2 separate regions of the Homo sapiens genome follow, and region 2 is linked to region 1. The links are contacts of gene promoters, found by promoter capture Hi-C in blood cells and fetal thymus (Javierre and others, 2016). All regions are on one chromosome and are shown on one strand. Each heading gives the region's core, a stretch centred on a gene start or on the middle of the fragment in contact. The rest is flanking DNA. Distances are from core to core; before and after follow the strand shown. Region 1 holds the start of CTDSP2-AS1 (CTDSP2 antisense RNA 1). Region 2 overlaps MIRLET7IHG (MIRLET7I host gene).

Region 1 (2,594 bases), core at 68-2,567:
CAAGTGTGGTTTCCAATCCCTCACAATGATACCTTTGCTCTGGCTGGTGCTACATAGGGCAGGGTCTCCTGCTGAGGCAGGGGCAGGATCCAGTCCTTTGAGTTTTCTTGGATGGCATCTCAGGCTTGTCCCTGCTGCCCTGTGGGCTATTAGATCACTTCCTGACATCCCTCAAGAGTCCTCTGGAGTGGGGCTTGCAGGGCTGAGCCTGCAGCTGACTTGTCTATGAGGAAACGCCTCCTCTGTCTCTGGTCCAGGATCTGCTACTTATGGAGGCCCACCCCAACCCAGCACGTTTTTAAAGTACGTTGGAGCTGCCCAGGAGGGTGTTTTGGCAATACCTCCTTTAGAGGCTGATTCTGAAATCAGCGTGCTTTAGAACTGCCAGAAATCCCCTGCTCCCAAAACTGAGTCCTCTTACCTCTCTAGCTGAGGTCAGAGAACAGATTGCTGAAGGGGCAGAGACAAGAAAGTGTGTGACCTGTGACCCTCGCCCCACAGGTGGCATTAAGGACTCAGGTCTGAAAGAAGAGACAGCCATATAGGGAGCTCTCCTGCCCAGGGAAAGGGAACTAATGGAGACACTGGCTTAGGTAGAGCTGCCCCAGTTGCTGGTGCAGAGAGGGCACCAGCATACAACATGCTGGTATGGGCCAAACAGCATGGCTAAAACTGCTTTTTAATTTTTTAAATTTTATTTATTTATTTATTTATTTTGAGACAGAGTTTTGCTCTGTCCCCCAGGCTGGAGTGCAATGGTGTGATCTCGGCTCACTGCAACCTCCACCTCTTGGATTCAAGTGATTCTCGTGCCTCAGCCTCCGGAGTAGCTGGGATTACAGGAGCTCACTACCATACCCTGCTAATTTTTGCATTTTTAGTAAAGATGGGGTTTCACCATATTGGTCATGCTGGTCTCGAACTTCTGACCTTAAGTGATCCCCACTGCCTTTGCCCCCCAAAGTGTTAAAACTGCTTTTTTCAAAAAATGCCCATGCAGTTAGATACACAGCTACTTTTTGGAACTTCGGGAGCCGGTGCTAAGCTGGGTCCGGCCCTGCCTTGCTTGTTAGCTGTAGAGAACAGTGTCAGTGGCCAGGCATGAAAGCAGTACACCCTCCCCATTGTTTGCAGTCTTTTGTGTGTGGGGGCTGTCTAGGCATCTCACCCTCTTTTGTTCCCTGCCGACTCACCTGCTGGTCCCAGGAGCTCTTCCGTCCACCTGGCACTTTAGGGCATGTCCATAGCCAAGGAACAGATGCCCCTTGCAGAGGACCTGGGAGGACTTCTCTCCATGGGGGAGTCCCAGTCAAATGTGTCTTGGCTGCAGGGTTCAGGCAGCCGTCCAAGAAGGGCCGGAAATGCTCCAAATACTCTCCTTCCTCCAATAGCTGAGAGGAAGGAGGCCCCTCAGAGGGGCCATTTTATAGTGATAGCCAGGCTAAGGCTAAGTCCTTTGCTGTGGGGGATGGGAGGTGGTGGGGAAGGAAGTACTTCTGGGGATGAACCAAAAAAGAAAGCAACTTTCTACCTGAATGGGCTTGTTAAAATCTGATTGTCTCAGAGGTTACCTTCTGCTGAATCGCAGGCAGATGTGTGAGGAGTTCCTTTGCTGGGACACAAAGCTGTGTTGTTGACAAAAGTGGTATCTGGACCTGACTTTCAGGAGAAGATTAAAAACAGTGTTGCCCTGGTCACTCTGGTCTTCGTTTGTGTGTATGTGTGCACGTGTTCACGTGTTTGTACATGTACACTTTTTTTTTTTAAAGACAAAATCTCACTCTGTCACCCAGGCTGGAGTGCAGTGGTGCAATCACGGCTTACCGCAGCCTCAAACTCCTGGGCTCCGGTGATTCTCCCACTTCAGCCTGCCAAGCTGGGACTGCAGGTGCACCTGGCTAATTTTTTTTTGGTAGAACAGGATTTTGCCATGTTGCTCAGGCTGGTCTTGAACTCCTGAGCTGCAGTGATCCAACCGGCCCAGCTTCCCAAAGTGCTGGGATTACAGGCTTGAGCCACCTACCCCGGCCCATGCATAGGGGCAAATAGTGTCCTTACCTGGTACTTCTTGAGAGTAGTGGGGATGAATACCAGGGGAGACAGCGATTTTTGTCTCAAGTGAAACAGTCTTACTTGCTTTTGTTTTTCACAGAATACCCAGTCAGGGAGTTTGTGAGCTGGAAAACAAATTTTGTTGTGGACTTGGGAGAAGGTATAGGGGCTATTTTGACTTTCTGAAACCTGCTCATGATCAGAGCTCTCAGGCACCTTTCCCTCATCTTCTTGGGCTTCATCCACGTGATGATGGTGGGAGGGCTCCTGGTCTGTTGCTGGCCTCCTGGAATGAGGCCCATGATGTTGCCATTTAGTGGTCATCTCCCCTTGGATAATTAATTAAAACAAGCGCAGCATTTAGCTTTAGAGTTAGCACAGTGCCTTACTCTCTAACTTCGTTTATCCTTTCAGTCCTGAGTGAGGGCTTGCTGTTATCCCAGTTTATGGATGAGGAAACTAAGGCTCCAAAAGGCTGTGTGGCTGAGTCAGTAACTGGCAGAGCCTGGACCCCAGCCCTGATGATCCTCAGTGGGGGCATA
Region 2 (2,594 bases), core at 26-2,525, 4.8 Mb before region 1:
ATGAGTGGAACTCAGGTTTGAAAACAACTCAGGTGGCCCATGGATTGTCCTCACTACATGTCTGTAATTATTATTATAGGGAAATGTATTCCTTTTACAATGTGAATTCCATAATGTGGAGTTGGTTTTTTTGTGTTTGTTTTTGTTTTATCTTCTGTATATTCCCAGCACCTGACATAGAGCAGGTATCCGATTCACCTGTTGAATTTATCTGGAACTTATTTATTCTGTATAAGCTTCATTCACTACAAAAAGAAATGAATGGCAGATAGGATTCTTATTCTTAGGTTTTTCGTCCGAACTCTTAAAAAGTATGTAAATTTGTTTTTAAAACAGAAAAATATACTTTAATTTGCTTATGTATCTGTTTTTAGAGTTTAGTCAACTCTTTCGGCCATCTATTACGGTAACATTAAGTCAGTGTTACTATTATGACTAAAACTAGCCCATGCCTGTATCTACATAATACTTCTGTTTAACAAGGGCTTTAAAATACACTATGTGCAGAATATTAAAACAGCAATCTCTGAATCTTAATACCTTTTTGGTAGTTATGTTCAAAGTGAGATAAAACACCCGTTAATTGTTTATTACTCAACCTAAGAGCAGTTAAGGGATTTTTCAGGTATAACAGAAAACACATTACAACTACATATATGATCTAAACTGTCAATGTCTGTGGACAGTTTTTAGTCCTTAATTTACTTGAATTTTCTGTGACATATCACACAGCTTGGCTTTCTGCGAACTCCTGACTTCCATGATAAAATACTCTCAATTATATTATAATGGAACTAACGGAATTTGTAAACCTGATTCGAAGAAAATAATATTTTCTGTAAGTGTTGTTTGATGTTGAATAAGAGGAAAGAACTAGGAACTTATCCTTAAAAACACAAGATTGTGTCTTAGGTTTGTTCATATTTGATATAACTAAAAGACTAAAGTTACACTATCGGGTGTCAATAGTATGCCTTTAAAGGACCCTATTCACAAATTTAGTGGCCAAAAATCCTGTGTAGGCACAATTCCATTACATCTGAACAAAACAGCACTTTTAAAGAAAGGTAAATGTAAAACAAATTTAACCAAAAAAAAAATTTTCAACTTGAGATAAGAAAACACATAAATTCCATGTAGAACTGCTAATATTTCTTTTAATTCTGATGACACTCCCAGCGTATTTGTAGCAGATAATATGAAACTAAACTGTAAATCACCTAGAGTATCATTATCACTGCGATTGTCATCTCCAAGATCTCAGGCAACAAACCTAACCAAAAGAACTCCCTAAATTACTATACTATTTGAAGTGTTCCATACTTCCCTTCCCCCTTAGCTCATTCAATCACTTTTCTGCCAGGTCTCAAAAGTGAAGTAGGTCACTAATGTTTTTCTCACCTGCCCACATTTTGATTATTTATTTAATTTCTTGAGACAGAATCTCAACTATTTTGTCCAGGCAGGTCTCAAACTACTGGGCTCCAGTGACTCTCCTGCCTCAGCCTCCAGAGTACCTGGGATTATAGGTGCACATCACTGCACTGAGCTCACATTGATTTTTTTTTTTTTTTGACAGTCTCACTCTGTTGCCCAGGCTGCAGTGGTGCAATCATGGCTCACTGCAGCCTCAAAGTCCTGGGCTCATGAGATCCTCCCACCTCAGCGGGGACTACAGGCAGGCACCACCACACTCAGCTAATTACATTTTGATTCTTAAACACTTCATGTGACATCTTTCCTGTTTTCCTTTGGGGCAATGACCTAGCTATACAATTATTTTGCTTTCCCCATGGTGCCCAATAGTGATAACCTAACAAAAACACTTAGTGAACTTCATTAGACAATCTTAGAAATAATTTTCAAATTTTTGCTTAATTATCTAGATTATCAGTAGCGCCAACAGCTTTTCAGAGTTTATGACAATGGTCATTAATTCTCCTTTTGGGTACTACCAATCTGGCCTAATTCATTTTCGAAGATGATTGTCCTATTTACCTTTTGTTGTAGAAATTACAGAGGGGATTATTCAGTGGGAAAGGAAATTAATAGTATCTCCTTTGTCAGCTTCACCATGGAGCGGGTGGAGTGTAATAAACAATAGCGGGAGAGAGCATGTAGCTAGGAAGAAATCTCAGCCTTTTTGGTGCTTTGTGCTTATACACTGAAGAGCTAATTTGTGCTGTCAGGTGCCTCTGTCAGGAATTCTTTGGGGACCACTCCACAAGACACAATGTCTTGAGTGCACCCTTGCCAGTCAGTCTTGCCTACCTGCCAAAAGGTTATTTTAAAATAGCTTGTAAACAAAGCTTTTCTATGTAAGATTAGCAATCAGGAATTTTAAAGTATGAAGCAAAACTGTGTTCTCCAAGAATCTTCTCCATATGGTGTGTCCTATATACCATAACACAGTCTCCATTTCCAATTGAGGATGACATTTATTAAAATGTTATTACCATAACCCAGCTTTCCTTTGGTTTAGTATGTACTTATTGAGAAGGGCACTCAAAATACTGCCTTATTACTTTCCACCAGTGGCTTTTTACAACTACAAATTACTTAAATGCTTGACAACAGACCTTTAACAAAAAAGT

Evidence for each region. Contacts are between HindIII fragments. The CHiCAGO score rates a contact against its expected background, and 5 or more counts as called.
Region 2: a fragment that was not itself captured here is called in contact with the fragment with the promoter of CTDSP2-AS1 in region 1 in 1 of 17 cell types (M2 macrophages); the score reaches 7.6 in M2 macrophages.

The regions. Positions count from the first base shown.
Region 1 is chr12:57,835,814-57,838,407 of GRCh38, reverse strand. CTDSP2-AS1 (CTDSP2 antisense RNA 1) reads right to left here and starts at 1,317. Exons shown (of 2, transcript NR_188077.1): 1 at 1,194-1,317. The region is part of intron 1 of CTDSP2 (CTD small phosphatase 2); the gene reads left to right. RefSeq lists enhancers at 1-57, 118-227, 1-428, 1,018-1,087. The HindIII fragment of the contact is 9,495 bases long and covers 1-2,594 here.
Region 2 is chr12:62,605,795-62,608,388 of GRCh38, reverse strand. The region is part of intron 1 of MIRLET7IHG (MIRLET7I host gene); the gene reads right to left. Among named protein-coding and RNA genes, the nearest start is that of MIRLET7I, 3.4 kb to the right of the region's middle. The HindIII fragment of the contact is 2,073 bases long and covers 239-2,311 here.